7 separate regions of the Homo sapiens genome follow, and regions 2, 3, 4, 5, 6 and 7 are each linked to region 1. Evidence: promoter capture Hi-C in 16 types of primary human blood cells and fetal thymus (Javierre and others, 2016). All regions are on one chromosome and are shown on one strand. The core of a region is centred on a gene start or on the middle of the fragment in contact, and the rest is flanking DNA. Distances in the headings are between cores, read along the strand shown.

The links. Contacts are between HindIII fragments. The CHiCAGO score rates a contact against its expected background, and 5 or more counts as called.
Region 2: a contact is called between a fragment that was not itself captured here and the fragment with the promoter of KRTAP4-5 in region 1, in 1 of 17 cell types (naive CD4 T cells). The highest score is 6.0, in naive CD4 T cells.
Region 3: a contact is called between a fragment that was not itself captured here and the fragment with the promoter of KRTAP4-5 in region 1, in 2 of 17 cell types (total CD4 T cells and naive CD4 T cells). The highest score is 7.3, in total CD4 T cells.
Region 4: a fragment that was not itself captured here is called in contact with the fragment with the promoter of KRTAP4-5 in region 1 in 1 of 17 cell types (erythroblasts); the score reaches 5.7 in erythroblasts.
Region 5: a contact is called between a fragment that was not itself captured here and the fragment with the promoter of KRTAP4-5 in region 1, in 4 of 17 cell types (total CD4 T cells, activated CD4 T cells, naive CD4 T cells and 1 more). The highest score is 6.5, in total CD4 T cells.
Region 6: a contact is called between a fragment that was not itself captured here and the fragment with the promoter of KRTAP4-5 in region 1, in 4 of 17 cell types (naive CD4 T cells, naive CD8 T cells, total CD4 T cells and 1 more). The highest score is 8.1, in naive CD4 T cells.
Region 7: a contact is called between a fragment that was not itself captured here and the fragment with the promoter of KRTAP4-5 in region 1, in 1 of 17 cell types (naive CD8 T cells). The highest score is 5.2, in naive CD8 T cells.

What each region holds. Positions count from the first base shown.
Region 1 is chr17:41,147,920-41,151,571 of GRCh38, reverse strand. It overlaps KRTAP4-5 (keratin associated protein 4-5), which reads left to right and starts at 1,747. Exons shown (of 1, transcript NM_033188.4): 1 at 1,747-2,648. The coding sequence starts at 1,805. The coding sequence ends at 2,350. The HindIII fragment of the contact is 5,677 bases long and covers 1-3,652 here.
Region 2 is chr17:41,632,396-41,636,047 of GRCh38, reverse strand. It overlaps the pseudogene KRT42P. Among named protein-coding and RNA genes, the nearest start is that of KRT17, 9.6 kb to the right of the region's middle. The HindIII fragment of the contact is 4,882 bases long and covers 1-3,652 here.
Region 3 is chr17:41,595,298-41,598,949 of GRCh38, reverse strand. No RefSeq gene overlaps it. Among named protein-coding and RNA genes, the nearest start is that of KRT14, 10 kb to the right of the region's middle. The HindIII fragment of the contact is 1,482 bases long and covers 1,331-2,812 here.
Region 4 is chr17:40,704,555-40,708,206 of GRCh38, reverse strand. No RefSeq gene overlaps it. Among named protein-coding and RNA genes, the nearest start is that of KRT24, 2.6 kb to the right of the region's middle. The HindIII fragment of the contact is 4,290 bases long and covers 1-3,652 here.
Region 5 is chr17:41,554,402-41,558,053 of GRCh38, reverse strand. LINC00974 (long intergenic non-protein coding RNA 974) reads left to right here and starts at 3,559. Exons shown (of 3, transcript NR_038442.1): 1 at 3,559-3,652. The HindIII fragment of the contact is 4,431 bases long and covers 1-3,652 here.
Region 6 is chr17:41,502,870-41,506,521 of GRCh38, reverse strand. KRT13 (keratin 13) reads left to right here and starts at 910. Exons shown (of 8, transcript NM_153490.3): 1 at 910-1,466; 2 at 2,797-2,879; 3 at 3,079-3,235; 4 at 3,424-3,585. The coding sequence starts at 972. The HindIII fragment of the contact is 1,600 bases long and covers 938-2,537 here.
Region 7 is chr17:41,470,390-41,474,041 of GRCh38, reverse strand. No RefSeq gene overlaps it. Among named protein-coding and RNA genes, the nearest start is that of KRT32, 4.8 kb to the right of the region's middle. The HindIII fragment of the contact is 4,488 bases long and covers 1-3,652 here.

The DNA.
Region 1 (3,652 bases), core at 498-2,997:
TTGGCAAGGATGTGAAAAAAACTCCCTCGTACACTGTTGGTGGGAATATAAATTAGTTCAGCCATTATGGAAAACAATATAAGGGTTCCTCAAAAAATTAAAACTGGAATTACCGTATTATCCAGCAATCCACTTCTGGGTACCTTATATATCTACAGGAAATGAACTTAGTATGTTGAAGAAATAACTGCATGTCCAGATTTATTGCAGCACTATTCACAATTGCCAAGATATGCACACAGTGCAAGTGTCCACCAATGAGTAAGGGGATAAAGAAAATGCAGTATATACTCAGTGCAATACTATTTGGCCGTAAAAAGACGGAAGTTCTGTCATTTGTGACAACATGGATACATCTCAAGGAAATTATGCTAAGTGAAGTAAATCAGTCATAGAAAGACAGATAGCACATGATCTCACTCACATGATCGCACTCAAAAAAGTTGATATCATAGAAGTAGAGCAGAGAATGAAGATAATCAGAGGCTAGGGGTGGCTAGGGAGTCAGGGGCTTGAGGAGATACTGGTCAAAAGACATATAATTGTAGCTAGACAGGAAGAATCAGTTCAAGAGGTCTACTGTATAGCATAGTGACTATAGTTAATGATGATATATTGTACATACTGTATTCTTGAAAAATTCTAAGAATGGATATTAAGCGTTCTCACCACAAAAAAATGATAGGTATGAGAGGTAATGCATTTATTAGCTAGATTTAATCCTTCCACAATGTATATATACTTCAAAATATTATGTTGTATGTGGTAAATACAATATTATACGTCAATCTGAAAAATAACTAATTGTTTTTAATTTCACTGAGCTTGAGTTCTTTCTATATTAAGCACATCATGCAAGACACAGTAGTGGGGGTAGATAGATTCTTAAAAGTATTATACAGGTGTTACACAGTGTTAGGGAGCCTGGGTGAAGTACAGACAGCCTCTCCTGGGACTGTTTGTTACAGCTGTATGTAAATCTACAATTATCTCAAATTTCTTTTTTAAAAAGTGAAAACACACACCTGCATTATGTTAACAGACAGTTAGAGGCATTTAAAAAAAACAATGAGTTATGGAATAAAAATGGGACTATGTCTTCCGGAATCTAATAGATTAACTGGAGAGACATGACACAAAATATAGGAGAGCAAAGTATCAATTTAAGAAACTGACCCATTAGTAACACCAAGTATAAAAATTTAAGGATATGGAATATGACCCAAAATTTGAAACATTCAGGGAAACCCATTTCAATAGTGTAGAGGTCACCAAGGCCACATGCAGGTATTGCTATCCCTTTGCTTATTGCTTAATAATGACCCACAGACTAGGAATGCCACACTGAGCAGATGGGTTTTCCTCGCTATTGGTCACTAGAGGGAATGCATAACTGGAAGTGTGACTGACCAAATCCCATTTTGGTAGAGGGTACCTGAAGCGAGAGTAAGAAATGCAATTCCAAATGCAGGGAATCACATGAACAGCCCTCTGTGGAGGAAGAGGAAGAGAACGTGGTCTAGAAGATGCTACCGAGGTGTGAATCATGAGAGAAGGCAGACATGATAGATCTTATTACATCCGGACAAGAAAATTTTGTTTTCAACAAGTTTAAACCATTAAATGGGCAAACATTATTGTGTAATCTGATAATCACTTAGTTATTAAGTAAACAAAAACAAGGAAAATGTAGTACCAACAAGACAGCTGGGCAGTATATAAGAGGCTGTGGCCCAAGGACACTTCCAAACTTGAGAACCTCATTCTTCTAGAAATCCACCCAGAACCTCCACCCTCTGACACCATGGTCAGCTCCTGTTGTGGCTCTGTCAGCTCTGAGCAGAGCTGTGGCCTGGAGAACTGCTGCCGCCCCAGCTGCTGCCAGACCACCTGCTGCAGGACCACCTGCTGCCGCCCCAGCTGCTGCAAGCCCCAGTGCTGCCAGTCTGTGTGCTACCAGCCCACCTGCTGCCACCCTAGCTGCTGCATCTCCAGCTGCTGCCGCCCCTATTGCTGTGAATCCAGCTGCTGCCGCCCCTGCTGCTGCCAGACCACCTGCTGCAGGACCACCTGCTGCAGGACCACCTGCTGCTGCCCCAGCTGCTGTGTGTCCAGCTGCTGCAGACCCCAGTGCTGCCAGTCTGTGTGCTGCCAGCCCACTTGCTGCCGTCCCAGCTGCTGCATCTCCAGCTGCTGCCACCCCTCTTGCTGTGAATCCAGCTGCTGCCGCCCCTGCTGCTGCGTGCGTCCAGTCTGTGGCCGAGTCTCCTGCCACACCACTTGCTATCGCCCAACCTGTGTCATCTCCACCTGCCCCCGCCCCTTGTGCTGTGCCTCCTCTTGCTGCTAATGTCTCCTTGTGATATTTGTCATACTATGAATGTCTTCATTAGTCATTTAAAATGCACTGTAGCCAGCCAGTCACTGGAAAAATGAACACTTCCCTGCCAGTTTGTCTCATGTGGCATTCAGAGTGGACATTCAGCTCTTCTAGGAAATGACAGACAATCACATTCATTAAAATATGTTATGCCAGGCCCCAATGCAGTTATTTTTAGATGAGCAGTGTCTTCATTCGAAGGGGACACTAACTGTGATGATCTCATATAATATTGTTTTCATGTATTAATAAACAGCCACTTCCCTAATATTGAAATCTTCTGATTTGTTAGTGATCTCATTGTGCGTGTGTGTGTGTGTGTGTGTGTGTCTTTACCTGTCAGTTCACATCAAGGGCCATCTCTCTTCAAATGCAGGAGAGCATGTTTAAGAGCCTGGGCTCTTGATTCATGTTCCCTGCATTGGAATCACGACTCCCCTAGGTATTTGTTGCGTGGCATGGGGCAAGTTTTTTAACCTCCTCAGGCCTCAGTTTTCTTTCTCTGTGAATAGAGATAATGCATTACATTCTTTAAATGTTAAGAGACATAACCCATGTAATATACTCACCACAGGGCCTGGTACATAATGCAGTATAGGCTCTTAATGGATACAGTTTCTGGCCGAGCGTGGTGGCTCACATTTGCAATCCCAGCACTTTGGGAGGCTGAGTGGGTGGAACACTTGAGGCCAGGAATTCGAGACCAGTGTGGGCAACATAGTGAAATCCCTTCTCTACTGAAAGTACAAAAATTAGTTGGGCGTGTTGGTGCACACCTGTAGTCCCAGCTACTTGGGAGGCTGAAGCAGGTGAATCACTTGAACCCAGGAGGAGGAGGTTGCAGTGAGCCGAGATCATGTCACTGCACTCCAGCCTGGGTGACAGAGCAACTCTGTCTCAATAAATAAATAAATAAATAAATAAATAAATAAATAAATAAATACAATTTCTGCTGTTACTATGATTGAAACAATACCCTGGGCTAGAATAATATCTTAGCATAATTTTCTTTTTGACAGAACAGCAAGAAAATTTGTATCATTGTTGCGCTGTCTTCTACAACTCAAAATTAAGTTTTGGTATATGCCTCAAGTGTCCCTTAAAAACTCCAGCAAGTTGAACATCATGAAGTCATCTACATTTTGTCTGACTGTATTTCTACTTCCAGTATGTTCCATTATTTGTTGTGGAAATTTTGAGTGTTTTCCCTAGCTCAAGTACTTTTTTCTTGTTTCCTTACTTCCCCCTCCCTCCCCTTCTAATCCCTTTACC
Region 2 (3,652 bases), core at 830-3,329, 480 kb before region 1:
GGAGGGTCTTGGTTTCGTGTCTCTTCGTGTGTGAGTGCCTGCTGGTGCAGTCTTGACTCTGGCGGCTCAGGTGAGCACGGGTTTTACTGGGTCTCTCTCCTCCCCGAAGACAGTCCTGGATTGCCAGGAAGTCCTTCCAGATGTCTAACCTCGTGCTCATGGTGGTCTGACCTTGCTCTCTAGCCTTGGTTTTGAACCTCCCCCCATCCCCGCCCAGCACCTTCACAGGCTGGGCGGGAGCAGTAAAATCAGGGCTCAACCGCTCTCTTCCAGATAGCTCCTGCCATTCCCAGCTGGCACAGTCCCCAGCTGGCACTTTCCGTGAGAGACCACCCACTATCTGAGCAGGAAGTCTTTCCAGCAGTGTGGTCTCATCTGGGAGCTCTGGGCCACATGGAAAACCCAACTCCCTCCCTGTCCCCGTATGCGGGCAGAGAGCCCAGGCCACCCATGCACTTCTCTCCCCTCTCCTGTTCCGCGGGCCCTGGCTGCCCTGGGAAGCTCCACATTCAGACAGGCCTGGTGCAGACGCCGGTGTCCTGGCAGCACCTAAATCATTAGTGCCGCGGAGATTAGGATACTAATCTCCTTGTTGGGTGGAGCGGTGCCAGCCACCAGCCTGCGGATCATGCTGCTCTTTTGCAGGGGCCGTTCCTCGGGGCATGACGCTGGCTCCTGCACAGATCCTGCTCCTCTGTGGCCTTCCTGGGCTGCCCTCCCCTCCTCCGGGACTGCTCTGGACTGACATTGCTCAGGTTCGGGTGAGGAGGGAGGCTGCCCTAACCCTTTGGCCTCAGACCCCTGCTCCCAGCCCCACCTCTGCTTCCTGTTTTGTTAGAGCCTTACTGACGTCATTATCTCTCCAGATTCCCTCAAAGACTTTGGGAGACAAGACTTGGTCCCCCTTTTACAAACGAGGGAACGGAGGCTCTAGAACTGACTTCCTGAAAGGCTTGGATCCAAAGCTCCCTCAGTTCAGCGGCCACGTCTATTTCCCTCAGACACAGGGATCCTTGAACCTGTGGGCTGTATCTCCCCGCGGACTTGGAAGAATCCCAAGAGAGTGGGGCTCCCACAGGTCAGAGGCTAATTCTGCCTCCTCTGACTGGGAGTCTCCACCAGGGCCACGTTGTACCTGGGCAATGATGTCAGGCCCCGATCTCTCCACCCTTACCCCAGGGCCCTGGAATGCTGGGTGAGGGGCCAGGCCAGCCTCCGGCTCCTGGCCTGTGCAGCCTTGTCCTGTGCCCGTGCTGGCTCCCAGGGCTGGGTTCTCCGGGCTCCCCACAAGAATAAGCTCAGCCTCCTAACTGTGGCTGAGGATGGAGGGTCACCCTACCCCAGGGCTACAGACCAGCACCACCTTTGTTTCTTTCTTTCTTTTTTGAGACAGATTTTTACTCTTGTTGCCCAGGCTGGAGTGCAATGGTGTGATCTCGGCTCACTGCAACCTCCACCTCCCAGGTTCAAGCTATTCTCCTGCCTCAGCCTCCTGAGTAGCTGGGATTACAGGTTCGTGACACCACGCCCAGCTAATTTTTGTATTTTTAGTAGAGATGGGGTTTTGCTATGTTGGCCAGTCTGGTCTCAAACTCCTGACCTCAGGTGGTTCACCTGCCTCTGCCTCTCAAAGTGCTGGGATTACAGGCGTGAGCCACCGTGCCTGGCCACCACCTTTGTGTCTGAACAGACCGCTGAGGCCCTGGTGCTCAGGCTGGGCTCTTGCTATGGAGGGGTCCTTGGGGAGGCTCTCAATATGTCCAGCCTGAGCCCCAGGCCCTGGGTGGGTGGGAGGAGGCAAAATACACTCCTGGGGTTTTGGCCTGAACTTCAAGGGCCAGGGTCCCAGCCCCACTTCAGCCCGGCTGTAACGGGCTACCCAGGGTCTCCATCCAGACCAGACTCTTCACCCGACCCATGGACACCCTGGTTGTCACCACTACCAGCATCTGCCAGTTCTCCACCTCTGGCTCTGTCAAGGGCCTGTGGACACCTGGCGGGGGTTTCTCCTGGATGTCATCTGTCAGTGTTGGGGGTGCCTTTCGCCAGCCTCCTGGGAGTCAGCAGCTGTGGCAACATGTCGGTCACCTCCTCCTGCTTCTTGGTGGGACTTGGGGGAGGCTACAGCGGTGGCTACACCTGTAACCTGGGTGGGGGCTTTGGCTCCAGCGTTGACGTGGCGGATGCCCTGCTGCGGGGGCGGTGAAAAGACCATGCAGAACCTTACTGACCACACACACAGCACACACATACACACAAACACCACACACAACCACACACACACATACACACACACAAACACCACACACACCACACACACCATCACACACATACACACAAACACCACACACACACCACACACGTACACACACAAACACCACACACACCCCACACACATCACACACATACACACACAGAAACACCACACACACACCACACACAGCACACACGTACACACACACAAACACCACACACCATACACATCACACACTACCCCAAACGCCACGCGCCCCACTCACACCTCACACTCCCAGATTCACACACAGGCGCATGCCCACCGATCGATACACACACACTAAAAGACTCCTATATACACATTCACACATAGCTCACAGGCACATCCACATACACACATACTACATACACACACACATACCACACACCTACACATATACCCACCACACCCCCAACACCCCCTCCACACATATTAGTCACACACCCCCCCAAACCCCCCACACCCTCTCCAACACATATACACACCCACCCAAACATACCACACACCACACACACACTCATACACATCACACACTACACAAACATCACACACATACACACCACACACACCACACATACACGCGCACGTACACGCACACACACCACACACACACCACACACATCAGAGACACACAGCACACACACATCACACACATATACACACACAAACACCACACAGACCATACACATACACACATACACGCCACACACACATCACGCACACACCACATATACATCACAGACACACGCAAACACCACACACACACTCCAAACACATCACACACATACACAAACACCACACACACCACACACATACTCACCATACACACCATAGATACATCACACACACACTCACCACACACACCACACACACATACACATACACACAGACACCACACACACACCCCACACCACACATGCCACACATATTCCACACGCACCACACACATACACACTACACACACACCATACACATATATACCCACAACCACCCATGTACCACACACCACACACACCACACGCATATACACACCACACACACAATACACACAGATCTCACACACACATACACACCACACACACATATACACCACACCACATGCATACCACACACCACACACACCACATACACACATACTACATACACATAAACACCACACACATCACACACCACACACCACACACACATCACACACCACACACACACACACATACACACACACTCTCTCTCATGACCTCTAAGAACATGGCTTTGGCATTCTGTAAACATGGCCACTTTGTCTTCTGCACAAACCCTGCCCTGGAGGGTCCTACAGAGCAAAGCCACCAGTGGCAGGTGAGGAGTGCAAGTGATGAGTATGGTGGCCAGGGGGGCCAG
Region 3 (3,652 bases), core at 822-3,321, 450 kb before region 1:
ACCACCATTACCCCCACCATTAACACTACCACCATCCCTACCATCACCACCATAATCACCACCACCACCACCAATACCATAATTACCATAATTACCACCATCACCACCACCATCACCACCGCCACCACCACCACCACCACCACCACCACCATTACCACTACCACTATCCCTACCATCACCACCACAATCACCAGCACCACACCAATACCCCCCACCACCATCACCCCCACCATTAACACTACTACCATCACCACCACCACCACCAACACCCCCACCACCGAAATCACCACCTCCCCACCACCATCACCAACATTATCACTACCACTATCCTTACCATCACCACCACAATCACCAGCACCACACCAATACCCCCACCACCATCATCCCCACCATCACCACCCCCACAGCCCCACCACCACCATCACTACCATCACCACTACCACCATCCCTACCATCACCACCACAATCACCAGCACCACACCAATACGCCCCACCACCATCACCCCCACCATCACCACTCGCCCCTGCACCACCACCACCACCACCACTGAAATCACCACCCCCACCACCACTACCACCACCACCACCACCACTGAAATCACCACCCCCACCACCACTACCACCACCACCACCATCACCACCACCATCACCACTACCACCATCACTGCCATCACCACCATAATCACTGCCATCATTACCACCATCACCACCCCCACCCCCACTACCACCACCACATCATCACCACCATTACCACTACCACCATCACCACCATGACCACCACAATCACCACCATCATTACCACCATCTCCATCTCCATCACCACCACCACCACCACCACCACCACTACCTCCAGTACCTCCAACACCCCCAGCACCATCATTTCCTTTCCCCCAATCACTCCTCCAGTTCTTTGAAGGGGGTGTTGCTCATATGGGTTAAGTTAGATGGGGAGTAACCAAAGTCTTGGGACACACAGACATCACTCAAGCTGGGACAGTCAAAGGACAGATGCACACTGAGTGCTGCAGTAGAACAGTCCTCGCTAGATGCTGACAGAGAGAACAACCAACAGAACACTGATGAGATAATTGAGATAACGAGGCAGCACAGACTTGGATACCCCCATGGGGCTCCCATGTGGCTCCCTGGGAGGCAGACAGTGCCTGGTCTGCCTTGTGAAGGCTGCACAGCCTCTGGATGCTGCCTCTGCTCCTGTCCACCTAGGCTGTCTCCCTGACCGTGGGGGCCCACCAACTCTTCTTCCCCTTCCCTCACCAATATCCTCCCCCAATCTGGTTTTCCCTCTTTCACTTTGTTTTATCCAGAAGCTTTCCCTTTGTCCCTCCTAGTCTCTTGCTTATGGCCTAAACCTCGAGGCTCATTGGCACGCTGGAGCTGGCTCATGCTGGCTCTTGAGAGCTGGACATTAAAATTTCAGGAATTTTGCAAGGTGATTGTTAAATATGGCCCTCATCAAAAATTAAATTATACGAACTTAAAATTAAATGAATTATATTGAGAACAAAGGTAATGCATACTGAAAACTCATTCCTTCCAAATTATTTTACTACATTGTACTAATATCTGTGCTCTTGAGGTACTTATGACCATTTTATCCATATGGTGGACATGCTATAAGGCAGTGAGCTACTGCACGTCTCTTCCCAACCCTGTGTTAAGTGACTCCCTGTTGGTTGCTTGAAATTGGCCACAGTGGGGGTATTTACAACACGAAAAAAATAAATGTTATAAATTGGGGCTTGATTTATTGTTTTATTGATTGTCTTTTTTTTTTTTTTTTTAAGATGGAGTCTCACTTTGCCACCCAGGCTGGAGTGCAGTGCTGTGGTCATGGCTCACTGCAGCCTTGACCTGCTGGGGCTTAAGCAATCCTTCCACCTCAGTCTTCTGAGTTGCTGGGACTACTGGTGTATGCCTCCATGCCTGGCTAATTATTTTATTTATTTATTTTTGTAGAGATGGTATCTCACTATGTTGCCCAGGCTTGTCTTGAACTCCTGGGCTCAAGTGATCCTCCTATCTCAGCCTCCCAAAGCGCTGGAATTACAGGTGTGAGCCACCATGCCCAGCCCTGAATTGCCTCTTTTAGAAGCTAATTCAAGCTGAGTTTCCGTTGCTTGCAACCAAAATGTGCCCATCAATATATCCTGTTACCTAATTCTTGATTTATTTTTCTTCTATCCTTGCTGGATATTTTTAGTTTTATTATAAATATGTCTTTTATCATAAGCCATCCATGCCCTCTTTTGGAACTGGGAGACAGAAATGGTCATTTTTTTGCAAATATTGCACTGACAACCAGGATGGCCTCATTGAAACCTGAGAGGCTGCTTCCCCATCCCCTCATTCCAGCCACAGAATGTGGGCCCTGCTGGAAGCTCCCAGGCCTTCTCCCCTCACACCTAAACCATCCGCTGACTCTTCCTCATCAGTTTCCAGGCCTGCCCTATTCCCACAGCCTCCACCCTGGCCAGGCCCTTGCAGACTCACCAGCCCATCACCTGGCCGGCTGACCTCAGCAGCTCCCAGCTCCTGCAACAGGAGCTCCAGTAACATCCTGGACTCTTCTCTGTTCTCTGCCTCAAGGTCTTTGGCTGAACCTTGACACCTGTTCTCCATTTGCATCCCCCACTCCCTTTGGTCTAACTTGGGCTTAATTTAAGTGAACTTTTACCAAACACTTCCTCTGTGCCCAGTACCATGCTGGCCACCTGCGCTGACTTACCCACTCCTCTCAATAATCCTGCCAGGCTGAACTGGTTCTATTCCTATTTGATGGAAAACCAAAGCTTGGACGGCTGCAATGGCCTGTCCAAGGTCACATGGCTCGTCAGTGATGGAGCCAAGACTTGAAAGCTGGTCTTTCTGATCGGGAGGCCCTGCTCCTTCCTTGATCCCATGCGGTATCCCGTCTGGGGGAGGGAGGTGGGGTGCAAGATGCTGAATCTGTTCCCACATCTCTGACTGTGGGAAATGACTCTTTCTATCCATGAGGCTAGAACTACTCGGCGACCCCTTCCCTTCCTCTTTCCCTTTCCCTCTGTCCTGCCGACCAGAGCTCAGGACTCCTGACACAGACATTCCGACTCCCAGGTGCTGACTCTCCCCGCAACTCACCACTGTGCTGGAGTTCCCACAGCCACGCCCTCTCCCCACTCCACCCTCCAGGGTTCTTCCTTCTTTCAAAACCTGAGTCAAAGCGCACCCTTTCCAAGAAAACTTCTGTGTGCTAATCCACCCCACCTTGTGGCTCCTGTGCTCCTGGCTCCCCTCAGCCTATGGCACAGGGAAAACTCTGGGCTCTGCAACCCTCCTCCATCAGACTGGACAGCCCACGGGCAAGGGTTGTGTCTCCTGCATCAGACCAGAGTAACACTGAGGACTGACTATGTGAAAAACACTTTGTGGCCCCCTAAGGCACTATGGGGAGGTATAATCAAGGGTGGGGGCACAGATCACAGAGGCAGTGGGAGGTCTGAGAGATGGGGAGAAAGCCAGGTGACCTGAGCTGATGGGGTGGGGCTTCCTGGGAGAGGAGAGGTCTGAGCCAACAACATCCCTTACCTGGATATGGCAAATTCTCCCTACTGGTCCCCCACACCACGGCAAAGTATGTTCTGCATGGAGACCA
Region 4 (3,652 bases), core at 373-2,872, 440 kb after region 1:
GATTTTTCTTCCCAGAACAAAATTTGGCAAAATGGCATGACCAAGCAGATGCTTCCTGGTGGAGAAGAGGAAGCCTTCAAATAGACACACTTAAGTGAAACCAGGAAGAGAAAGAATGGACGAGGGTGGTGGGGAAGGAGAGAAAGTGATGAAGGAAGAGAAACAGCCACAGAATTGGTGGATTTCTGGGGTGTGACAATGACACACCCAATCCATCGACGGGTGGTGCCAGATCTACTGGAGTGGGCTCTTAGTCATGTTATTATTGCAAAACCTTTTTTCTCTTCCAAGTAGTTGACCCTGGCGGGGCCTAGAGCAGCCACCAGCAGGAAGCTGGCCCAAACAATGATTCCCTACAGGAAGGTCCCCGGTTGACTCTTGCCTGACCTTTCTGCCCTCTTCCCAAACAACATTTCCTCTTACTGCCAAGCCCCGCTCTCCGCCACCACACACTGAGAATCACTAACCCAGAAGTGGAGCATAAAGATTCAGAAAACAAAACACAACACATAGTAAAGAACAAAAGTAATCAGTGATCCAAGTTGTTCATGAAGAAAATCAGGCCATGTTAGTTTTTATTAATTCAAGGAATATTTATTGTCTATCTACTATCTGTCATTGCAACGGCATTGCAAAGAGACTGTTCACACATCAAATTTATACTTTCCAATGTGTCCAAAAGAAAGAAAATTGCTATATTAAAGAGATGTCTGTGCTCCCATGTTTATTACAGCACTACTGACAAGATTTAGAAGCAACCTAAGCATCCATCAACAGTAGAATGGATAAAGAAAAAGTGGCACAGGTCAGGCGCGGTGGCTCATGCCTGTAATCCCAGCACTTTGGGAAGCCAAGGAGGGCGGATCACGAGGTCAGGAGTTCAAGATCAGCCTGGCCAACATGGTGAAACCCTGTCTCTACTGAAAATATGAAAATTAGCTGGTCATGGTGGTGGGTGCCTGTAATCCCAGCTACTCGGGAGGCTGAGGCAGGAGAATCGCTTGAACACAGGAGGTGGAGGTTGCAGTGAGCCGAGATCGCGCCATTGCACTCAAGTCTGGGTGACGAGAGTGAAACCTGTCTTAAAAAAAAAAAAAAGTGGCACATATACACAACGGAGTACTATTCAGTCATGAAAAGAATGAGATCTTGTCATTTGCAACAACGTGGATGAAACTGGAGGTCATTATGTTAAGTGAAATACGCCAAGCACAAAAAGACAAACTTTGTGTATTCTCACTTACTTGTGGGAGCTAAAAATTCAAACAATTGAACTCATGAAGATAGAGAGTAGAATGATGGTTATCAGAGGCTGGGAAGGGAAACGGGGGAGTAGGGGAAAAGTGAGGACGCTTGATGGGTACCAAAAATAGTTAGAAAAATGAATAAGACCTAGTGTTTCATAGTATAACAGAGTGACTATAGTCAATAATAATTTACTTGTATAATTTATAATAACTAAAAAATAGTATAATTGGAATGTTTGTAACACAAAGGATAAGTGCTGGAGGTGATGGGTACCCCATTTACCCTGATGGGATATGTACACCTATATCAAAATATCTTATGTACCCCATAAATCTATATACCTACTATGCACCCACAAAAGTTAAAAGTTAAAATTTTTTTAAATGTATATTTTCCCTTCTTTTTTACTGTCTGCCACAGAAAGTTTTGTCAACATTCAACAAATACTCTAAACCCAGCAACTTCCCTTAACTACTCTGATGTGATGCTTCTATTTGAAAAACACAAAACAGTATATTTTCTTGAATGAACAGAAGATAGAATACCCAAGTTCTGTTCTCAATTCTGTAAAGATTCATCAGGAGCCATATGCCATGCATTTCAGTATTTGGTTTTCCTACTAGTCTAAAAACCTGCAATATGTTAATCTGAAAAATATTTAAATACTAATAATCTATCCCCCACACACACAAAAAAAAATTGATGGTTACTATCTGCAAATCATTCTGCACTTATTATTAAAATCATATTCTATAAGGAAATATAGCTTTTATATGTTTCTTTACAGGTAGAAATAAACTTCTAATCACAAACTATTCAAAATTTGAACTGGGAGCCCAGACACCTAAGATTCAGTCTGTCTCTCTCTCTCTGTCTTTTTTTTTTTTTTTTTTTTGAGATGGAGTCTCGCACTGTCGCCCAGGCTGGAGTGCAGTGGCACAATCTCTGCTCACTGTAAGCTCCACCCACCGGGTTCAAGCAATTCTCCTGCTTCAGCCTCCGAAGGAGCTGGGATTTAAACGTGCTTTCAGCCAAATGCAAGTCTTTATGAAAATTGAAAGATTACATTTCATAGTTTTAAAAGGGAGAAACACTCTGTGACTGTTCCTCCCATTGCCAGCATTTGCATACCATTTAATCATTAGGGTTTAGTTTTCTTTGGTTTCACAGCTTTAGGGATGGGCGAGGCAGGATGACCAACACATTATGTGTGGTGCATTTTTTAGCTACTTTAGAAGGGCGTTATAAAAATTACTCCCAGCTTAACAATTTAAAATTTTGTACACCATGTACCCCTTGGAGATATGTCACCCTAAATATGAAGAAGAGTAACATCATACTCCTGTGAAAACAGTACAGGTAGATCATAAAAGCCACATAAGAGCTACATAGTAAAGTGAATGATTACCTATTTAATCATGTGTCCCAATAAAATGCAATTTAAGGAAAAATTTAAAGCAGAACATTGTTTAACAAATAATTGAATATAAAGATTAAGGTGTGAACATAGTTTAACAGAGACTGGCAAAAGAAGGAAGAAATTCTTAAATAAACAAAAGTCAGCTACTTAAGTTTAAAGCTAAGGAGGATACAAACTATTTCTGGAAGCACCTGTTTTTTAAGACTTTTTAAAAATTGTGGTAAAATACATATAACATAAACTTATCATCTTCATCATTTATAAGTTTACAGTTCAGTAGTCTTAAGTGTACTGACATTGTTGTGCAACCAATCTCCCAAACTCTTTTCTTTTTTTTTTTTTTAGACGAGTCTCACTCTGTCTCTGAGGCTGGAGTCCAGTGGCACAATCTTGGCTCACTGCAACCTCTGCCTCCCGGGTTCAAGCAATTCTCTGCCTCAGCCTCCCAAGTAGCTAGGATTTCAGGCGCCTGCCACCATGCCTGGCTAATTTTTTGTATTTTTAGTAGAGACGGGATTTCACCATCTTGGCCAGGCTGGTCTCGAACTCCTGACCTCAGGTGATCCACCTGCCTCGGCCTCCCAAAGAGCTGGGATTACAGGTGTGAGCCACCACGCCTGGCCCCAAACTCTTTTCATATTGCAAAATTAAAATTCTATGCCCAGTAAGCAACAACTGTCTATCCCCAACCCTTCGGCCACTGGCAACTACCATTCTACTTTCTGTCTCTGTGAATTTGACTACTCTAGGCACCTCATAGTACTGGAATTATACAGTATCTGTCTTTCAAAAAGACACTATTAAACCGGTGAAGTGACTAGAAGACATGAATGGAAACAGTCTAAAATACAAAGGGACAAAAAGCCATGAAGCACAAAGGGAGCTCAGGAGGGTTCAGAATCTATAAAATAACTCCAATTGTAACACTAGTTATCAGAAGTAGATACAAATCCTCTTTTATCTTTAAAACGAAGGCAGGAGATA
Region 5 (3,652 bases), core at 643-3,142, 410 kb before region 1:
GTCTACAGAATCAGGAACTTAGAACTTCAAGTGTATTACTCCTTCTCTAAGCTCTTCAGTACAGTTAAAAGAAACAAGCCCACTCCAATTTAATTCACATGCTGTGGGCTTCTAGAAGCTCATTTTAATCATAGCCAGATTTTCACTGGCCCATCTAGGCCAGATAACCAAAGTGATTCTCATGTCATTCATTCAACAAACTTCACTGGATAAATATGTATCAAGCTCCTTTTATGCCAGGCACTGTCCTAGGTGCTTGGGATATATCAATGAACAAAAGAGACAAAGATTTCTGCCTCTATAGAGCTTGCATTATAGGTAAGGGTTGGGCAAGAGCAACAAATGTAATAAAGAAATAAATAATACTATACTTGAAGGTGGTAAGTGCGCAAAGAAGTAGGGAATATCAAGGGAGATTGGAGTGCTATGGCAGGGTGGGGAGGAGAGCAATGTTAAATAGGATGGCCAAGGTTGGGTTCACTGAGAAGGTAAAACATAAGCAATGACTTTGCGATGGAATAGTTGCCCTGACGCCCTTCATGGGCGGGAACTGGAGCACTTTGTTTTTTGTTTTTGTTTTGTTTTTTTTTGAGACTGAGTCTCGCCCTGTTGCCCAGGCTGGAGTGCAGTGGTGAGATTTCAGGTCACTGCAACCTCCGTCTCCCGGGTTCAAGTGATTCTCCTGCCTCAGCCTCCCGAGTCGCTGGGATTACAGGCACGGGCCACCAAGCCCGTCTAATTTTGTATTTTTAGTAGAGATGGGGTTTCTTATGTTGGGATTACAGGCACACACCATCACGCCCAGCTAAGGAGCACTTTGTTTCACTCAGCCTGTTGCTGGCCACTCCTTGTGGGAGTGAGTGTGTGAGCAAGTGTGGGAACCGGAGCAAATGAACGCTGGAACCAGCCGGTTGCTCCTCTCTGGCAGGAGCAGGCTCTGTTCGGGCCCTGCAGCAGCGTCCCTATTCTTTCAGCTGTGCTGTCAGGGGATGGCCAAATACCAACCAGTTCAATGGAGGTTCAGGGTGGCAGCCCCTGCCTTCTTGGCACCCAGGTTCTTGTCTGGCGTCCAGGAAGAAGAATCAGGTCACATAAACTGTTTGAAAGGTGACGAATGCAAAATACTTTACTGGGTGTTGGGTGGCTCTCAGTGGAAAGGGAGGATGGAAAGGTGATGGGATGGTGATCTTTCCCTGAAGCCCCACCGTCTCCGGCAGGGCCCCTCTCCAAAGCTGCACCATCTGAAGTTAGCCAGATCTATCCACAGTCTCCGATGCTCAGTTGCTTTTCTGCTCGCCGCTCAGCTGCTTATATCCTCAGTGCTCAGCCGCTTGTGTTGCTCTGCCAGCTGAAGTCTTTTATGGGCACAGCATGTGGGCAGGCAGGCCAAAAAGGTAACATTTTTGGGGAAAATGGGGTCCTTTAGGGCCGAGGTTCCAGGCTTAAGGGTAGGGTTTAGCCAGGAGCCCAGCCCTTCTGTATCAACTTGACGGAGTGAGGGAGGCAGTCAAGCGTGTGTGGGGACCACTCCAGGCACAGCAGCTAGTGCTGATGATCATCCTAACACACAGTGCCTTGAGCAGAGGAGTGACAGGCCACTTGATGAGAGGCTGCGAGGCTAGGAGCAGAAACAGAGAGCCCAGTGTGCAGGGAGGTGAAGAGCCCCTGGCACTCAGAGTGAAGACGGTCAGAGGTGGCTGGATTCTGAGCATCATCTGAAGAAAGCACTGCCAGGAGTTCTTGAAGGACTGCATATTGTAAAAGAAAGAAGTCAAGGAGGTCTCTGAGTCTTTTGTCTGAGCAACTGGATGATAGGAGTTGTGGGATGGAAGTTGGCTGGTATGAAAGATGGGGAGTCAGTTTCAGACATGCTAAATTTACATTGTCTTTTGGACACCCAAACGGAGATCTTTTAGAAGTCTCATGCCAGTAATCACACTTGTTACTAAATTCTGTAGCCATCAGGGTTTTTGCCTGCAAAGATCAGAAGCCACACTCTGAAGCCAGTTTGTTAAAGGATGTTAGGTAAGCCATAGACTCTCCAGGAAGAACTCGCAGGGAACAGGTTTGAAGGCAGCACAGCCCGGAGCAAGCCCACCCTTGCCACTATCTGCAGGTGCAGATTCAGTAGCCCATTCCACTTGGCGCTATCACCAAACTTGTGGCGCTGCTGCTTCTAGAAACTGGAGGTCTGCAGTTATTCCTTCCAGCATGGATTCCACCAGGTGCCTCCTTTTTTAGGACATTAGCTCCCAGCTTACAGGCTTCTGTGATGTGTGTGACTGATCATGTGTCTGTGCTCCAGCTGCAAGGGAGGCTGGAAGGCTAATTTCTGGCTTCTATAGCCAGGAGGCACAGACACTAGAGGGAGAATTCCTTTACAAAGGAGCTGGGCGACTAAGTGTAAGAACAATTGTCCACAAGGAAGGAGCAAGGACTAACACTGATTGCGCACTTAATAATGTTCCAGGCACTTCGCTAAGCATTTTATATAAGATAAGGGAATAAACCCTGTATCTAATCTTCACAGCAATCTCATGATGCTGTCCTTGTTTTCATTTTACACATGAGGAAACATTTTTAGCGAGATTAAATGACTTGCTGAAAAGGTCACACAGCTCCTAAGCAGTGGAGACAGGAACTGAATCTAGGAAGTCTGATCCAAGGACACTGGGATTATGAAGCCCATTTTATAGATGAGGAAATTCTAAGTTAGAGAGGTTAAGTAACTTGTCCAAGGTCACATAGCTTGTAAATGATCAAGCAAAGATATAATTCCAGTTTGGCCTGGCTCCAAAGCTGGTGCTCTGTTTCCTGTTCTCTATGGCCTTGAGCAATTATTGAGCCCCAAAAGAATACAGAGGCTAGCAAATCCCATAAGCAGAGGCTTGTCAAAAATACCTTATGTGGGCTGGGTGTGGCGGCTCATGTCTGTATTCCCAGCACTTTGAGAGGCTGAGGTAGGAGGATCACTTGAAGCCAGAAATTTGAGATCAGCCTGGGCAACAGAGCAAGACCCCGCATCTACCAAAAAAAGAAAAAAATATTGGACAGGCATGGTGGCATGCACCTGTTGTCCTAATTACTGGGTTACTTGGGAGGCTGAGGTGGGAGGATCACTTGAGCCCAGAAGTTTGAGGCTGCTGTGAACCATGATCATACCACTGTACTCCAGCCAGGGCAACAGAATGAGACTGTCTCTAAATTAAAAAAAAAAAAAGAAAAAGAAAAGAAAAAAAAAGGAAAGAAAAAAGGCTTACGTGGGAAGCAATGACTGTATGAAGAGCTGAGAATAAGACGAGTGACCTGGCACAGGTAGATTCTTTCCTGGGATCTCAGATTCCCCCTAGAAGGCCCTGGGTCTGTGCTTGTCAAAGGAAGGAATGGGTGAATGAGCAAACGGTGCAGGGAGGAGGATGACAGAGGAGGGTCTCTATTATTATTCATATCATTCTAACAGTCCGCAAATATCTACCCAAATCTCTAGAGCTTTGATCTCGAGTCCCCGCCCCTTGGAGTGTCCTGCTTGGTTGTGGAGGCTGCTGCTGCTGCTGCAGCCTCTTGGCTTCAGGCTCTGAAGCACTCCCCATCTCAGGCCCAAACAGGAATAAAATCAGTTCCTTTCTCTGTTCCTCTTACTAGACTGAGATCC
Region 6 (3,652 bases), core at 488-2,987, 350 kb before region 1:
ATCTATACATTTTACTGTATGAAAAATGTACCTAAAAAATGCACCTTAGCGTCAGACAGAACCAGACTTGGATTTCAGTCCTGATTCTGCCCTTAAGGTTCATTTTCCTCATGTGTAAATGGGGGCAATAGTAGGACCCTCCTCCTGTGGCTGCTGTGAAGGTTAAATGAGATGATGAGTGTAAAGTAACTTCACCCAGTTCCTGCCTATGGTGAGGGCTCGGAGAATATTCGCTATGATAATGGACAGGGCCACTTCCTCTTTCCATGCCTGAGTTTCCACAGCTGTGTCTGATGGTCCCTAAGATCCCTTAAGGTCTCTGTCACTGTGACTTTTTCTGATGGCCTCGGAGCTATTTCTTTCTCAGTCTAAATACTTTCAAGGCAGGTGATTCTATCGAACCAAGCAAAGTTTGTCATCAGAGTTGCTGGGGCCCCTGGAGTAGATGAAGTGCTAAGAAGGATCCAGGACATCCCAGTCAGAAGTTTTAGGTATAGAAAAAAGGAAGGTCGAGGGCTACGGTGACCTTGCAAAGCACAGAGCCACTCTGCACCCACCACTTTCCTCGCAGAAGCTCCTGGCAGGCCTCCGCATCTCAGGTCCCGTTCTAATACTGGGTGGGGCTCAGAGCCTGCACAGTGAACTCCTTAAGTGGAGGTGAAACAGAATTCACTTGTCAAAAGGGCAGTCTCAGGCAGAATGCTGTCCCCTCTGAATCATTCTTTTTGTTAAGGATTAAAAAAAAAGCCACCCCCAAAAGGCACAACCCACCCTGGAGAGATCAGAGATAACTAAGCTTGTGGGAAACAGAAGTGTAGTTGGCACCAAGTCAGAGGGTGGGGAAGGGAGGAGAGAAGATAACCAGCCCCTATGGAGGTGTATAAAAGGTGTCCACTCTGGGGAAGAGCCACAGTCCTCGGCCCAGGCCAAGCAAGCTTCTATCTGCACCTGCTCTCAATCCTGCTCTCACCATGAGCCTCCGCCTGCAGAGCTCCTCTGCCAGCTATGGAGGTGGTTTCGGGGGTGGCTCTTGCCAGCTGGGAGGAGGCCGTGGTGTCTCTACCTGTTCAACTCGGTTTGTGTCCGGGGGATCAGCTGGGGGCTATGGAGGCGGCGTGAGCTGTGGTTTTGGTGGAGGGGCTGGTAGTGGCTTTGGAGGTGGCTATGGAGGTGGCCTTGGAGGTGGCTATGGAGGTGGCCTTGGAGGTGGCTTTGGTGGGGGTTTTGCTGGTGGCTTTGTTGACTTTGGTGCTTGTGATGGCGGCCTCCTCACTGGCAATGAGAAGATCACCATGCAGAACCTCAACGACCGCCTGGCTTCCTACCTGGAGAAGGTGCGCGCCCTGGAGGAGGCCAACGCTGACCTGGAGGTGAAGATCCGTGACTGGCACCTGAAGCAGAGCCCAGCTAGCCCTGAGCGGGACTACAGCCCCTACTACAAGACCATTGAAGAGCTCCGGGACAAGGTGAGCCCTTGGAAGCTGAGGAGGGGTCCTCCATGAAGGGCAGAGCCTCCAAGGCCAAGAAACACAGTGTTGTGGGGGACTAGGTGTGGACGGAATTCACAAACTTCTTGCAGGGGAAAAGCCTACTGTTTGACTACCAAGAGTCTCTACCTCTGATGGGCTTTCTCATGCCACAACTCCCCAAATGCATTTTCTCTCATTATTCATTTTTATGATTGTTATTACTCAGGTCAGTTTTTTTACTGCTTTCCAGACAGTTATGTTATTCATGACTCGATCTCTATAATCCTAACCTACTGAGTTATCTGGAAACATGACAGGTTTAAAAGCCATTAAGAATGCATGAAATCAACAGAGAAAGAGAGACGTGTTCATTCATTGCCCTGGGAATAATTGTTTACTTTGTAGGGGACCCATTCAAACTGGTATTCTCAACTGGCGATGGCCAAGTTGGGGGAGAGAGAGGCAGAGGCTTAGGCAGTGCCGAGCCTGGGTGCCCTTTGTTGAGCCCTGTCTGTTGTGCTGTGATACCAGCCTGTTGGAGCAGAAATCTACCAGCCTGGGCTGAGTCTCAGCCATGTGGAGCAGGCTTTCACTGCTTTGGAATATAAACGTTTAGACAAGAAATTCAAAGGGATGGGAATATTTGTTGGATTTCCCCTCCACTCAGCTGGGAAGTCAGCTCTAGCAAAGTGATTGTGAGATATGTGGCACCAAGCCGAGTCCCTCCTGACTTTCAGGGGATGGATCTCAAGACAGTGGCCTAGGGAGGGTGCTAGTCTGAGGCTGCCAAGACATGACGAACCAAAGATGTTCTCAGCAGGTCGTTCCTCAGAAATGCACTCCCTGCATCTCCCCCAGGGTGCTCAGACATGGAATATTAAAGTGTTAGAAACGATTGGAGGGGATGCAGCCCCACTCCTCACTTTACAGAAGAGCAATGGAGGCCCAGAGGGAAATGCCTTGTCCCAGCTCACAGGACAGTTTAGAGGTAGAGCCCCATGGGAACCAGGTCCTGCCCATGTTTTCCCAGGCCACCTCCTCAAGCACGTGGACCCCCCAGAGCAAGCTTGTCTAACCTGTGGCCGGTGGGCTGCATGTGGCCCAGGACAGCTTTGATTGAGGCCTAACACAAATTTGTAAGCTTTCTTAAAACATTGAGTTTTTTTTTATTTTTTATTTTTGCCAATTTCTTTTTAGCCCATCAGCTATCGTTAGTGTTAGCGTATTTGATGTGTTGCCCAAGACAATTCTTCTTCCAATGTGGCCCAGGGAAGCCAACAGACTGGACACCCATGCCCTAGAGGTTACCTTCTTCTGCATTTTGTAGATCCTGACCGCCACCATTGAAAACAACCGGGTCATCCTGGAGATTGACAATGCCAGGCTGGCTGCGGACGACTTCAGGCTCAAGTGAGTTTTTTTTTTCCCCCTCCCTCTCCTTTCCCAGGAGTCTCTTAGTTTAGACAAAAGCTCATCTGACCAATGACACTGGAGCATCCCAGGAGTGAAGGTCTGGAAGTACTGGAGTCTCGTGCAGGGGTAGGGAGAATGTCTCATATCATTTATGTCTTGCTTTTTCAAAAAACATTTCATTTTTTTACTATTTTAGGTATGAGAATGAGCTGGCCCTGCGCCAGAGCGTGGAGGCCGACATCAACGGCCTGCGCCGGGTGCTGGATGAGCTCACTCTGTCTAAGACTGACCTGGAGATGCAGATCGAGAGCCTGAATGAAGAGCTAGCCTACATGAAGAAGAACCATGAAGAGGTGAGCGGGAATTGCAGGCTGCCCTGGGCTCAACAACCTCCAGTGAGAAGGAGGAGCCCTCCCCTGCAACTGGACACAGTCCTCCACTGTGGGACCTGGAAACACTCTCCAGAACACTCTGCCAGCACTCAGAGCCAAGGAGAGGGAGGATGAGTAGCCTCACACATCTTCCTTTCCCATCCCCACAGGAGATGAAGGAATTTAGCAACCAGGTGGTCGGCCAGGTCAACGTGGAGATGGATGCCACCCCAGGCATTGACCTGACCCGCGTGCTGGCAGAGATGAGGGAGCAGTACGAGGCCATGGCAGAGAGGAACCGCCGGGATGCTGAGGAATGGTTCCACACCAAGGTACCCGGCCCTCCCACCCCACATAGCCCATCCCATATAGCCAGGGGGGCCGGGCGGACACAGCCTC
Region 7 (3,652 bases), core at 853-3,352, 320 kb before region 1:
TTTCTCTGGAGTTTTATTTTTTTTCCAAAGAAGGAGCCTCTGGTTTTCTGCGGGGGAATGAATGGAGGGAGACAGTGCTGGCCCAGGCTGTGACACACATCCTATCTGCTTTTGTTGAAACAGGCCCTTCCTCCTGGATTCTTTGCATCCCTTTCTCTTCTCTTCCTAAACTTATTTTCCTGATAGTTTGCTCTGGCCCCAGAGAGGTTGGGGTACAGTGGAAAGTCTTTGGATCAGCCAGACCTGGGCCTGAGAACTGACAGTGCCCCACTTTCTCTGTGGCTACCTTTCCTAGACCCTACTTCTCCATCTTCACGACATACCCCAGATCTGGCATATTGCCTGGAACTGTGGTCTTCTGTGACTTTGGATGCTGCTGCTACTACCTTTATCAATCCGCTCTTTTTTTTTTTTTGAGACGGAGTCTCGCTCTGTGGCCCAGGCTGGAGTACACTGGCGCAATCTCGGCTCACTGCAAGCTCTTCCTCCCGGGTTCACGCCATTCTCCTGCCTCAGCCTCCCAAGTAGCTGGGACTACAGGTGCTCGCCACCAAGCCCAGCTAATTTTTTTGCATTTTTAGTAGAGACGGGGTTTCACCGTGTTAGCCAGGATGGTCTTGATCTCCTGACCTCGTGATCTGCCCGCCTGGGCATCCCAAAGTGCTGGGATTATAGGTGTGAGCCACTGCACCTGGCCTCAATCTGCTTTTATATGAAACCTGGTCTTTCCTTCACAACGGAAAACTCTGCTCACGCTGGCATTTGGGACTGCACCTCACAGCGACAGCCTCTCAGCATCATCCTGGAGCCCCTGCTCCTGGTTCCTGTCTCTCTCCTCCTCATTCCTTCCTTCCAGGATTGTCCTGTGAACTTCAAATCCTTCTCTCCTTTCACCCTCTGATGTCTTACCAGCCAAATCAAGGCATTAGGGTCCCACCTTTTAACCCAAGATCTTCTTAATGTAGTTTCCCAAGTAAAGACATTTTTTTTCCTGCAAGATGAATTCTGGTGACAGCTGTTAAAATATATGCAGGCACACTTCGATTTATTGAGTTTCAATTTATTATACTTCCCAGATATCGTTTTTTTTTCTTTTTTCTTTCTTTTTTTTTTTTTTTTTTTACAAATTAAAGTTTTGTGCCAATCCTGCCTAGAGCAAGTCTGTTGGTGCTAATTTTTCCAACAGCATGTGCTTATGTGTCTCTGTGTCACATTTTGGTAATTCTCACAATACAAATTTTTTCTTTTTCTTTTTTTTTGAGACAGAATCTGGCTGTCTGCCCAGGCTGGAGTGCAGTGGCGTGATCTCGGCTCACTGCAACCTCTGCCTCCTGGGTTCAAGCAATTCTCGTGCCTCAGCCTCCCAAGTAGCTGGGATTACAGGCACACCACGCCTGGCTAATTTTTGTAATTTCAGTAGAGATGGGGTTTCGTCATGTTGGCCAGGCTGGTCTCGAACTCTTGACCTCAAGTGATCTGCCCACCTCAGCCTCCCAAAGTGCTGGGATTACAGGTGTGAGCCACTGCGGCTGGCCAAACTTTTTCATTATTGTATGTGTTATGGTGATCTGTGGTCAGTAATCTTTGATATTACTGTTGTAATTGTTCTGGGATGCACCAAACCATGCCCAGATAAGATGGGGAACCTAACTGATAAACGTTGCGTGCGTTCTGATGGCTCCACCAACTGGCCATTCCCCCATCTCTCTCCCTATTTTGGGTCTACCTATTTTCTGAGACACAGCAATATTGAAATTAGGCCAATTAATAACCCTACCGTGGCTTCTAAGAGTTCAAGTGAAAGGAAAAGTTGCAGGTTTCTCCCTTTAAATAAAAAGCTAGAAATGATGAAGTTTAGGGAGGCGGCATCTTTCATAGCTAGACAGGAGGAGTCTGCCTTCAAAACCTTCAAAGGATGGGCTGACTCTCTTGCTAGGAGCTAATGCAGCTGATGACTTCAAGTGGGAAGTCAATGCTCATTTACCATTCTGAATATCCTAGGGCACTTAAGAATGATGCTAAATCTTTTCTGCCTGTGCACTACAAACGGAACGACAAAGCCTGGACGACAGTGCATCTGTTTATAACATGGTTTACTGAATATTTTAAGCCCACTGTTGAGACCTACTGCTTAGAATAAAAGGTTTCTTTCAAAATATTTCTGCTCATTGACAATGCATCTGATCACCCAAGAGCCCTGATGGAGCTGTCCAAGGAGATTAATGTTTTTGTGTTTGCCAACACAACATCCATTCCACAGCCCATGGATCAAAAACTAATTTTGACTTTCAAGTCTTATTACCTAAGAAATATATTTCATAAGGCTATAGCTGCCATACAGAGTGATTCCTCTGATGGATCTGGGCAAAGTAAATTGAAAACCTTCTGAAGAGGATTCACTATTCTATATGTCAATATTTGTGATTCAAGAGAGGAGGTCAAAATATCAACATTAACAGGAGTTTGGAAGAAGTTGATTCCAACTCTCATGTATGATGTTGAGGGGCTTAAGACTTCAGCAGAGGAAGTAACTATAGATGTGTTGGAAACAGCAAGAGAATTAAAATTAGAATTGGAGCCTGAAGATGTGACTGAATTGTTGCCATGTTATGGCAAAACGAACGGATGAGGAACTGCTTCTTATTCATGAACAAAGAAAGTGGTTTCTTGAGATGGAAACTACTCCTGGTGAAGATGCTGTGAACATCACTGAAATGGCAACAAAGGATTTGGAATACTACATCAATTTAGTTAATAAGGCAGTGGCAGGGTTTGAGAGGACTGACCCTAGTTTTGAAAGAATTTCTACTGTTAAAATGCTATCAAACAGCATCACATGCTACAGGGAAATCTTTCATGAAAGGAAGAGTCAACTGATGCGGCAAACTTCACTGATGTCTCATTTTCAGAAATTGCCACAGCCACACTAACTTGCAGCAATCATCACCCTGATCAGTCCTCAGCCATCAACATTGAGGCAAGACCTTCCACCAGCAAAAAGATTATAACTTGCTGAAGGCTCAGATGATCCTTAGCATTTTTAGCAATAAAGCATTTTTAAAATTAAGTTATATACATTGTTTTTAGGCCATAATGCTATGGTACACTTAATAGACTATAGTATAGTGTAAATATAATGTTTACATACACAGAAAAACCAAAAAGTTTGTGTGACTCACTTTATGGTTACATTTGCTTTATTGTGGTGGTCTAGAACTGAACATGCACTATCTCTGAGGTATGCCTGTATCTTCCTCTATCTCAGTGGGTCTCCAAACCACCTGAAGGACATGCTAAACACAGGCTGCTGCATCCCAGCCCCAGCCTCAGAGTTTCTGATTCAGCCAGTCTGGGATGAGCCTGAAAAACTGCATTTCTTTTTTTTTTACATTTTATTTTTATTTTTATCAAAGCAGTGTATCTACATTGTTTAAATAAAACAACATTAAATAGCAAATATTTAAAAACTGCAACATCTATGCCTTCTTTCTTTCTTTATTGTTATTATACTTTAAGTTTTAGGGTACATGTGCACAATGTGCAGGTTAGTTACATATGTATACATGTGCCATGCTGGTGTGCTGCACCCACTAACTCGTCATCTAGCATTAGGTATATCTCCCAATGCTATCTCTCCCCCGTCCCCCCACCC